2 separate regions of the Homo sapiens genome follow, and region 1 is linked to region 2. Evidence: promoter capture Hi-C in human tissues and cell types (Jung and others, 2019). All regions are on one chromosome and are shown on one strand. Each heading gives the region's core, a stretch centred on a gene start or on the middle of the fragment in contact. The rest is flanking DNA. Distances are from core to core; before and after follow the strand shown. Region 1 has its middle 10 kb from the start of IL5. Region 2 holds the start of GDF9 (growth differentiation factor 9).

What was found. The method cuts DNA at HindIII sites, captures the fragments that hold promoters and counts their contacts. A contact is called where the count stands out against the background at its distance.
Region 1: a fragment that was not itself captured here is called in contact with the fragment with the promoter of GDF9 in region 2 in 1 of the 25 tissues and cell types used here (IMR-90 fibroblasts).

The regions. Positions count from the first base shown.
Region 1 is chr5:132,530,515-132,536,390 of GRCh38, reverse strand. No RefSeq gene overlaps it. Among named protein-coding and RNA genes, the nearest start is that of IL5, 10 kb to the left of the region's middle. The HindIII fragment of the contact is 7,519 bases long and covers 1-5,178 here.
Region 2 is chr5:132,864,495-132,870,588 of GRCh38, reverse strand. It overlaps GDF9 (growth differentiation factor 9), which reads left to right and starts at 4,120. Exons shown (of 2, transcript NM_005260.7): 1 at 4,120-6,094. The coding sequence starts at 6,056. It overlaps UQCRQ (ubiquinol-cytochrome c reductase complex III subunit VII), which reads right to left and starts at 3,947. Exons shown (of 3, transcript NM_014402.5): 1 at 3,902-3,947; 2 at 3,554-3,720; 3 at 1,742-3,101. The coding sequence starts at 3,707. The coding sequence ends at 3,007. RefSeq lists enhancers at 3,609-4,109, 4,110-4,610, 3,469-4,668. The HindIII fragment of the contact is 5,371 bases long and covers 1,783-6,094 here.

The DNA of each region.
Region 1 (5,876 bases), core at 170-2,669, 330 kb after region 2:
AGACTGTATGTCAGCTGTGAAGCTATTGTCTCTCAGCTTCAAGCCCACTATACTATACTCTGCTGCAGCTGGGATTCTGCAAACCAATTTCTCCTTTGCCAGCTGCAACCCTGTTAGGATCTGTCAATGGAGGGTGTAGACTAGGAGGCTGGAGGAAGAAAAGGGGACTTTTTTCTTCCTGTTGCTTCCTATTCTTTGTTTTTGTTTCCTGTTCCTGTCCTCTTATATTCCTATTCCTAATCCTAATCCTAACATGAACCCTGGCAGCAGTAGTTGACTCTAGTAGCAACATTTGATTATAGTTTGCAGTTTTTCCACCATTCATAGAACCGACCTTAGCACACCTCATTTCCCTCTGAGACCCCAGCAACAGCCAATCAGCATCCCCTCAGAGGTCTGGATCCCATTCCCAAAGGACCCCTTTTCTGAGCTCAGGAACTGCACTGCATGCAGAGCAGTGTCCCCTCTACAGATGTCTGAGTTTCAGGTCCACAAAGCCCGTCCTCCAAATTTATAAGTTTTAATAATTTTCACCTGTTCCCTTTGCTTCCCAGACATAGAAGTGCTAGCTGCTTCCCACAATTGCCACCTCCTTGATACCTTATTGTTCCCTTTTTGCCTGCCTAGTTTTCCAATACCTGGCTAACAGTTCTTTATATTTAATTCTGCTTATTAAAATAACTGGTATAGTTTGTGTCTCCTGGTTGGTGCCTAGTTAACACAAGATGTTCTTAGATCTGACTTTAATTATTGGCCTTGAGGCAATAAGGGGTGTTGAGGGAGGGTTGTGGGCAGAACAAATGTCATCTTGTGAAGTATATGTTTCAAGTGAAATAGTTATTCTGTTTCCAGGCAAGGAGAAGTTAGTCTACTCTGGCAAGGGGGAAAGGTCTGCTTCTACCAGTTAAGGAGGGCTCAGAGAATTTGGAGGTTCAAGAGTTTTAGGTTTGTCCACCCAAATGTTTCTATCCCAGGTCTCATGGTCCCAGCCTTTCCTCATAAGAGCCCTGACTTTGACACAGAATGTGCAAAATCCACTCTTCTCCTTTGAAGCTCTTCAAAGGCTGCAAATAATCAGATCCTGAGCCTAATTTTCAGATCGGTTTGCCCTGCAGTTGCTGGAAATAAGAGTCTCCTCTAAAGTTGCCATGGGAGTTGTCGAGCATTCCGAGAATATGTTAAGTTAGAATTAGATTGCCATGAGCCTATCATTTTCTTTTGGTAAGGTCTTCAGTGCTGTCAGAAGAGTCATTGTACTCTGCAATCTTTATAATTACCATTGTTCTCATATAACCCTGTCATTTTATCTTTCATTGTCTTGCTGTCCACCTGCCCCTCATCTAAATTAACCAGAGCTAAAAGCTTAAGAAATTGCAAAGCCACTGCCTGCCAGAAGTTATTATCAACCTACTTATATTCAGCAATAGGTTCATATTATTTTAAAATAGTGAATAATCCAATGTCAATGTTCCATTTCCAAGTGTTTGTTACCTAAAATTACATCTGATACTAATTGTCATAGCCAGGTCTCTTCAGAAAGCAGAGCCTGAAGTCAGGCTCTGCTTGCCTTCTATGCCTGGAAATTAAGGGTGCTGTGTTGGTGTTGGTGCTGACAAAGAGACAGATAGGAGGCAGTGAGGGCAATCTGAGAAGGCACACAAATATGTATCCAATACAAACATAAATTTCCACAACTGATGCAAGAAGACATAGAAAAATCTAAACAGATCTAGAACCACTAAAGAAATTAAACCAGTCATTTAAAATCTTTCTTGAAAGAATACACCAAGTCCAGATAGTTTTCTAGGTGAGTCCTTCTAAAGTGTCAGGTCACATATAATTCCAAACATATATAAACTCTTATAGAAAATAAACAAAATGAGATATTTCCCAGCTCATTTTGTGAAGCTAATATGTAGCATACGAAAGTCAGAGGAGGAAAATATATGAAAGAAAAATTATGATCCCATACTCACTCATGAATGTGGACATAAACATTGTTATCAAAGTTTTATAAATCCAAATCCAGCATGTATAAAAAGACATTACATAACAACTAATGTAATGTCTTTCTTTCAGGAATATAAAATTAAGTGTCAGGAATATGAAATATTCCTTTATTTCAGGAATATAAAATTAAATGTCAGAAAATCTATTAATGTAATTTACCACATTAATCACTTTTTAAAGAGAAGAATCAGGCTGGGCACAGTGGCTCACGTCTGTAATCCCAGCACTTTGGGAGGCCGAGGCAGGTGGATCACCTGAGGTCAGGAGTTTGAGACCAGCCTGGACAACATGGTGAAACCCTGTCTCTACTAAAATTCCATAATTAGCTGGGCATGGTGGCGGGCACCTGTAATCCCAGCTACTCTGGAGGCTGAGGCAGAAGAATCGCTTGAACCTGGGAGGCGGAGGTTGCAGTGAGTTGAGATCGTGCCATTGCACTCCAGCCTGGGTGACAAGAGCGAAACTCAGTCTCAAAATACAAAACAAAAAAGAGAGAGAGAGAGAGAGAAGAATCACATGATGATATCAATGCAGAAAAAGCATTACTGAAATTTTACATTCATTTATTATAATTACTTTTTAACAAAGTCAAAATAGAAAGGAACTTTTTTAACCTGATAAACTTACAGAAAATACTGTGCTCAATGGTAATATGTTCAAATCATCTCTTTAAAAAAAGAATAATGCAAGAATACCTGCAGGACCACTCTGTGCACTGCACAATCCCAGGAAGCACCATTTACATCAGAGACATTATATATTTGAGTATGTATGACAATTTCATACCAGATAGAAGTATCTTTTTCCAATTTGCACAGAGGCTTTATATGATGTACTAGTGTCCCTGGAGACTAACTTTGTTTCCATTAAAAACTGACCAAAGGTCCCAGCCTTTGCAAAAAGATCATTCATATTAATAGAACTAATAAATATGAGGATTATAAAGGAAGAAACAAAAATCATATATATATTTGCAGATGATACACTATGATAAAAATGGAACTCAAAAACACGTAGAGTCAGTCAAATGATTATAAGGAATAAGAGAGTTCAGCAAGTTGCTGGATAAATATGCAAAATCAATTACAAATTATACATTACCAAAAAACAGATAATGTAATTTTAAAGAAGACATCATTACAAATAAGTATAAGCATTATTATAATACTTATAAGACTATAAAGTGCCAAAGGGTATGGGGGCACGTGCTTGTAATCTCAACTACTTGGGAAAGGCTAAGGCAGGAGGATCATTTGAGGCCAGAAGTTTGAGGCTGCACTCCAGCCTAGGCAACTGAGTAAGACCCCATCTCTCTCTCTCTAAAAGAAAAAAAAAAGAAATGTAAAGTGCCAAAGAATAAATCTAACAAAACATGGAAAACATTTAAAAACTTTATGAAAGATAGTAACAACAGCAAATGCAGAGACCTAGTATGTCCACGGATCAAGACTTGACACTGTAATTTGCAAACTGATTTATACATTTAATGTGACTCCTATCAAAATCCCAAGCATTTTTTTCATGATCATACTATGCTGATTCTAAAATGTACACGGGAAAATGAGAGTCCAAGAATAGCCAATACAATTCTAAAGAAGGAGCTGAAAATGGGAGAACGTGGCCGGGTGTGGTGGCTCACACCTGTAATCCTAGCACTTTGGGAGGCCAAGGTAGGCAGATTGTCTGAGCTCAGGAGTTCGAGACCACAATGCGCAATATTGCAAAACCCCATCTCTAGTAAAAATCCAAAAAAATTAGCTGGGCGTGGTGGCATACACCTTTAGTCCCAGCTACTTGGGAGGCTGAGGCATGAGAATCGCTTGAGCCGGGGAGGCAGAGGTTGCAGTGAGCTGAGGTTGCACCACTGCACTCCAGCCTGGGCAATAGAGTGAGACCCTGTCTCAAAAGCAAACAAACAAACAAAACAAAACAAAACAAAACCCAAATGGGAGAACTTGTCTTGCTAGATATCAAGCCTTAATAATTAAGTGTGGTTTTGACAAGGGGTTATAACAGTAGTTCCCAACAGAGGGTGATTCCCCAACCCCAAGGGAACATTTGGCAATTTGGGGTTGTCAGAATTGGAGGGGAAGGAGGGGATGCTACTGGCATCTACTGGGTAGAGGTCACGGATGCTGCTAAACATCCTACAGTACACACAACAGCCCTCCACAGCAGAATTCTCCCATCCAAAATGTCAGTAGTGGCAGGGTTGAGAAATCCTAGGGGTAGACAGATAGACCGGTGAAAAACTAATTTAAAAACAGAAAATATGACCTGGGAGTGGGCTTATCCAGCAGGAAACAGTAGGGACACTCATATTGAGTAACTTAAGGCAGTTTATTTAATAAAGGGACCATTATAAAAGAATAGAGTGTAGGGAAAACAAAGCCCTTGGCGACTGGTAACAGGAACTGCAACAGGAGAGGGACTATTTACTGAAACTCAGAGATACAGAGCACACAGAGATACAGAGCACTACAGCGATACAGAGCACTACATGCAGACGGCCAATTGGCAAGAGCTGGGACCTTAAGTCAAGGGACACAACCAGCTTGCAGCAACCTTGCAAGGAGAGAGCTAAGGGCATACATACCTTGCTTCACGCACCTCCTACCTTTTGATCACCTGTCAATGCTCCCATGGTCAAACCCAATGGGAACCTGTGGGCAAATAAGCTATTAATGTAGTTCATACTGGTCAGCCTCCCAGGACACAGAGGCTAAAAGGGGGTGGAGAGCAGATCTGGAGAGGCAAATAGGAGCTTTCCAGATGGAATGGAAGGATTTCATAAATAAAACCCCCAAAGAGCAGAGCACCAAGGAAAAGACTGATACATTCAATATTCATCAAATTTACCATAAGGAGAGTGAAAAGACAAACCGCAAGCTAGGACAAATATTTGTTTCATATATAAATGACTAAGGATTAGTTTCAAGAATGTCTAACAAAATCCTCTTAATCAGTAAGAAAAAGATAAATTACCCACTAGAAAAAAAAAAAGGTAAATGACATGAATAAGTATTTCTTAGAACAGGAAACACAAATGGCCAATAAACATATAAAGAGATGTTCAACCTTATTAGTAGTCAGGAAAATCCAAAATTAAACCACAGTGAGATAACATTTCACACCCACCAGACTGGCAGAAATTAAAAAGTCAGACATTACAATTCTTGCCCAGGATGTAAAGTAAAAGGAATTCTTACACATTGTCCACAAAAGAGTAAAATGGTACTTTTGAAATGTAGTTCTTAGTAAAAAATTGAACGTGCACGTACCTTATGACCCCGAATTTCAACCTAGTGCATATTCTAGGGAAATTCTTGCCCATGAACGTCAGGAGAGATAAACAACCACAATCATAGTAGACTGTTTTCTTAAATAAACTTATTTTAGGAAAACTTTCAGGTTTACAGAAAAATGGGGAAGATAGTACAGAAAGTTCCCACGTACTCCATATCCAATTTTCCCTATTCTTAACATCTTTCTTTTTTTTTTTTTTTTTTTTTAGACGGAGTGTCCCTCTGTCACTCAGGCTAGAGTGCGGTGGCACAATCTCAGCTCACTGCAATCTCTGCCTCCCGGGTTCAAGCAATTCTCTTGCCTCAACCTAGCTGGGATTACAGGCATCCGCCACCGTGCCCTGTTAATTTTTGTATTTTCATTTTTTAGTAGAGATGGGGTTTCACCATCTTGGCCAGGCTGGTCTCGAACTCCTGATCTCATGATCCACCACCTCGGCCTCCCAAAGTTCTGGGATTACAGGTGTGAGCCACAGCACCCAGTCCTTAACATCTTACATTAGTATGCTATACATGTCACATTAATGAATCAATATGGATGCATTATTGTTAACTAAAGTC
Region 2 (6,094 bases), core at 2,871-5,370:
CACCTCAGCACTCCTGCCACACAGGTGAGATCCATTTCCCCAAGCTTAGAGAGGGAAGCCCTTTGATGAGACACAGGCTTAAAGCAGACTAATTTCATCCAAAGCAGAAGCTCCACACATCACAGGGCTTACGGCAGAGTCATCTCAGTAGAGCACTCCTGGAATAAAAAGAATAGGCTTGGTGCCTGGTTTGGGCTGAGAAAAGGGATTTGGATCTTTTGAGCTGGTCTCTCCAAAGGAGTCAAAGAACCAGGGAGAAATAGTCTAAGTGTAGAACAAGGTGAGCAAGATGGGAGAGGGTGGCCGTCTACTTCGGCGGGTTGGGGCAAACACCAGAGGGAGAAAGACATTAACGGCCTCTCAAAGCAGTGGTCCTCCTCTGGGCTGTGAACTCTTTGAAGCTATGCAAGGTAAGGATGGGTCCACAGTTTTCATCATTCTCAAGTCTATGACCCAAATATGTTGCAAGACCTGGGAATAAATCTGGACAAAGAGGCAAATGGGAAAATTGGACTGTCTTTTGGGGGTGAGGTAGAAGAGTTCCTCAGTTAGTTGCCCTGTGTTAAGCCCGTACCATCTTGCCAGACACTTGTCACTCATTTCACCATCACCACAACCCAAGAACTTTATAATATTTCTATTTTATGGGTGAGAAGCTTAAGGCTCATGAAAGTAGGTTTCTTGCCTATATCACATAATGAGGAAGTGACGGGCTAAGAGGACGAGCCCAAGACTGTAAGACTCAGCCTTTTCCCCGTATCCTGCCTCACAATGTAGTTTATCTTTTAGGTTTTGTTTTGAAGTCTCGCTCTGTCACCCAGGCTGGAGTGCAGTGGCACAATCTTGGCTCACTGCAACCTCCACCTCCCAGGTTCAAGCGTTTCTGCCTCAGCCTCCTGAGTAGCTGGGATTATAGGCGTGTGCCACCACACTCAGCTAATTTTTATATTTTTAGTAGAGACAGGGTTTCACCATGTTGGCCAGGCTGGTCTCAAACTCCTGACCTCAAGTGATCCATCCACTTCAGCCTCCCAAAGTGCTGGGATTACAGGTGTGAGCCACTGTATCCGGCCATGTTTTGAAGTATCTTAACTTTTGATTCTTAAAAGGCAATAGCAGTAATTAGGATAATAAAGATACAGTCTGGCCAGGCACGGTGGCTCACACCTGTAATCCCAGCACTTTGGGAGGTCGAGGCAGGTGGATCACGAGGTCAAGAGATCAAGACCATCCTGGCCAACATGGTGAAACTCCGTCTCTACTAAAAAAAAAAATAAAAATACAAAAATTAGCTGGGTGTGTTGGTATGCGCCTGTAGTCCCAGCTATTTGGGAGGCTGAGGCAGGAGAATCACTTGAGCCCGGGAAGCGGAGGTTGCAGTAAGCTGAGATTGCGCCACTAAACTCCAGCCTGGTGACAGAGCAAGACTCCCATCTCAAAAAAAAAAAAAAAAAAACACAGTCTGACCCAGAATCAAAGTTGCTGCTAGCAGGAAGAGTCCTTAGAAGAGTTTCTAAAAACGGATCTCAGATCCCATAGCATATACTGTACTGACTGAGCTATGACAACTCATCATATTCCACATACCTGCTACCACAGGTGAGATCCATGTCCCGAAGCTTAGAGAGAAGCCTCTCTAAGGAACTAGAGGCATAAAACTGCCAACCACACCTACCCCCACCATCTCTCGGTGGGCGAAGGGAAAATGGTATCTTTAATACCAAAAAGATAATTTAAAGGCTTTAGATCAGGGGTAAACTTTATTCATAAAGGGCCAGAGTAAATCTTTGAGGCTTTATGAACCACATATGGTTGAAAACATTGTTGGCCTCCTGGCACAGAAACAGAAAACTGCTGTGGAGGCTAAGAGATCACCTCATCCGTTTTATAGCTGATATCCCCTCAGGCTAAGGCCTGCCTTAGGAGGAAAGGCAGTAGAGCAAGCTTGTCCAACCGCAGTCCTGGGCAGCAAGCAGCCCAGGATGGCTTTGAATCCGACCCAACAAAAATTTGTAAACTTTCTAAAACGCTGAGGGTTTTTTTTGCCATTTTTTAAAGCTTATCAGCTATTGTAATGTTAGCGTATTTTATGTGTGGCCCAGGGAAGCTAAAAGATTGGACACCCCTGCAATAGAGCATAGTTTTAAGAGCATCACTTTAGTGCAAGACTCCACCATTCACTGCTGTATAATTTCTGGCAAATTACTTAATCTCTCTGTGCCCATTTCCTCATCTGCCAAATGAGGATACGTTAAAGGTGCTTGTGAGGTTTAACAGTTCATTTGTGTAGCTAAGAAGAGTATTTGAGGCCCAGAGCACCATGGCTTACGCCTGTAATCCCAGCACTTTGGGAGGCTGAGGCGCACAGATCATCTGAGGTCAGGAGTTCCAGACCAGCCTGGCCAACATGGTGAAACCTGTCTCTACTAAAAATACAAAAAATTAGCCAGGTGTGGTGTCCTGCACCTGTAATCCCAGCTACTCGGAGGCTGAGACAGGAGAATCGTTTGAACCCAGGAGGCACAGATGGCAGTGAGCCGAGATCACACCACTGCACTCCAGCCTGGGTGAGAGAGCAAGACTCCATCTCAAAAAATAAAAAATAAAAGCGTCCCTGACACATACTAATTACAATATAGTTAGTAGACTTTATTGTTGCTATGGGAGCAGAGGGCCAAGAACCAGCACTCGCCATAGCCCATGTCACCCACAAATGGTTAGATGCAGGAGTACCTGCAGCTACTTTCTTGTAGATAATGGAACAAAGGGGGAGCCCTGCTCTTTCACCAAAACCCGAGACCAGGCAAAACTTCAAGACTCATGCTGAGGAGGGGCGCTTCATGAACTTGAATATTAGTGGTCACACAGGATTCTACTCACAAAAATGTAATATCACAACAGTGCAGACCATAGGAAGTTTATTGTGTCTTTGAGACACTACAATGCAGACTCCTCTTCCAGAGAAAGGTCTTTCAGAGACAGGGAACCGTCATCCGGATGCGTTGCTCATTTGTCATTTTCATAGGCAGCTGGATTCTTCCTCTTGGATCTCTCGAACTCTTCAGTCCCCCATGTGTAGATAAGATAAAACACTACAAACTCTTTAAAAATTAAGAGAGTAAACAGAGAGCACACATATAAGACATATAGAAGAAAAAAAAAGGTCTCAGTCCTCTTGTCTTCTTTAAAGCATACACTTCAGTAGTTCTTAGCATATCCAAGGCCATGCAACTATCATCACTATCTGCTGCACGTTTAACACAAAGCATTTCACCACTGGTAAGAACTAAATAAAGGTGACCTCAGAGGAACATGCTGGAATCACCCGAGTGACCTTGGGCCAGTCATTTCAGTTCTGTAGCTCAGTTTTCCCCGTGTAAGATGGGGAGGATAATATGACCAGCTTAAGGGCGGTCAGGAATATTCAATGAGAAAGGTGTGTACGGCAAGTTACAGAGCGCCTGCCCGGCCGCCAGCGCTCAGAGGGGAGGCGCAGTGACTGCTGCTGCTGCTGGGGTCCAGCCTCCCGCTCCCGCGGGCCCAAGGCACTCACGCGGCACCACGCGAAAGAAAGACTCCCGAATGCGGCGCAGAACATTGGGGATTCCTTTAGTGAAGACGTGCGGATAGGCGCGCTGCTCGAACGGTGACAAGCTGTAGCTGATCACATGCCGCATCCGCGTCAGATTCCCAAACTCGCGGCCCATTGTGGCGGCGGCCCTGCAGGACCGAGGGTGGACAGGCGCTTGGCTCGCTTTCGCGAAGCGCCGCAGTCCCCGCGGGGGTCCATCCCCAACCCCAGACTCCTGCCCCTGCACTCCTTATCCTTTCCCAGCCCAGCGGGGCGCCCCTAGCCTCCCAGGGTCCACGAACACTGCACAACCAGACCCCACTCACGCACAGGGCTCAGCTCGCCCTCCACAGTCACCGATCCGGTTGACTCGTTCGTCATTTCCGGCAAGGTTGGAAGCCGCTCTTGGAGGTCGTGAGGTAACTTCCGGGAGATACCATTTTCCTACTGTCTCTAAGGGATGACGCCTTTGTCCCAGAAAGAAGTGGGCTGACTGGGTGACCCGTAGGTGGGAGGTGCCTTGGAGGCCCTGCCCGGGCCGGTGGGGTGGAGCCTAGCGGAGGACGTCGGGGATTGAACTGACTTTGGGGGACAGTGGACAGGCGGAGGCGCTCACACTTCTCCTCAGCCCTCGGCTTTTCTGTGGAATCCCAGTCAGGAAGCGGCCGAATGCGGGAGGCGGGGGAGGGAACAAAAAGGTGACGAGGAAGGGGCCTGCCGACCTCCGGGGCAGCGCTGGCCAGGAGCTTGGGGCCTGCGAGTCTTCCCAGCTGTAGACAGAGCGCCTCTGAGCCCCGAGGCCGGGCCGCCCCACAGCAGAGGAGCACGAGGTTTCATTTGGCCTTGGCCAGTAGCTCAAAGGGGGCTTCGTTATTTTCAGGCCATGAGCGACCCCAGCACCAAAATCAGGGACACACATCGAAGGCTTCTCTTGGACTCTGTTTTAGAGTCCCCTGGCAGGCTGTTAACGTTCCCAAGAGATAATACAAACGTTTCGTCAGTTTCAGCCACAAAAATAATCAAATAATCGTCAATTGATGAATGCTGAGGCCGCCTCGACAGCAGCCAGCGTCCTCCCCAGATGGTTTGCGTGGGGTGGGGGGAATCACGATGCCCCAGTTCTTTCTTCTCCCCACGTGAGAAGCAAGGAAAGTCGGGTGAGAGGCCTTATTATGTTTTCCCTGAAGTGCATTCTGCTTGACGATGCTGTTGTCAATGTACAGCTCGCCCTGAGGTGTCTTGTCAGTGTTTTGTTAATGGAATTGCTGGCCATATTTTATCTAGGACTAAGCTCTCATTCAACAGTTGGCTGTGTTTTATAACACTACTTACGGACCACGGAGGCTCGGCAGGCAGTCAACTTGTATTTTGCAGACATACCTTAGTTTTCTCATGTAGGTACTGCACAAACTGGCTTCGTATCTTGCACTATGAGTGTAGGCTGACTCTTCCAGCATAGTCTCCTTCGGGGTGGCGCTGAATATCCCCTCATTTCAGCTTTTCATGGTGCTCCTTTGCCTCATTTTTTTAAACCATAATGTCTAGCCTGGTCTCAGCTCCAAGGCAAGAACAGAAATACAGGTAAGGACAGAAATATTGTGGCAAATTCTACCACCATTTGGATGAATAATAATAAAACGTTCATTTATTTTATAGCATCTGCAAACATCCCAAAACCTTTCAACCAAAATATGTATAGATGAGTGTGCAGACCAAAGTAAGGACATCAGTATGTTACATTTAAAAATAAGTCAAGGTTAAAGGCGGTGTCCTCTTTTAAGAACATCGCAAATACAATTCCAGTACTCCAAGTACGTATTCTGTACCCAGCCACCTGGGAGGACTGAGAGACCTAATGGTTTTCTGCTTTCTGGAACTTCTATGCCAATTGTGACTTTCTCACCCAAATTTGTAAATTCGCAAATTAACATGCAGCGAATAATTACAATTGTAAACACCTGGAAGTGGAAAAGGCCGTGAGGATAAATTGAGAGGAAGAGTAAACCTAATACCATAAGTTGCATACCAGCAGATCTGAGTATCGTCATGAATAATTGGTTAGCTTTTCCACATGCCTTAGAAGTTTCAGCAAGCACCTAGCGAACATCTTAATCCAAATTTCTCAAAAAATGAGAGATTTTATTTAAGATCATTCCTCAATTTATCTTAGACTTTCAGCTACATAGTTAGTCCGGTAGTGTAACAGTAACGGGTTTTACGTAAATGCCAGGGGAAAAGAGAGGAAAGCTAAATAACCAAGTAAATCTGTATCTAATTAACAAATTGGCTAAATAAGGTGTTATCAGCTGCTTGATATAGAGCTGATAAAATCTTCAGCTAGGCATACTTGAGGCCTGATTACAGAAGTGACCGTAGTCCACCCACACACCTGAAATTTATTTAAGAGACCAAGCTAGGCTCTTCCTGGCCTTTAGGAAGAGGACTGGCATGGAGAAATATGTTCCTCACTAGTTCTCCCAAGCCATGGCACGTCCCAACAAATTCCTCCTTTGGTTTTGCTGC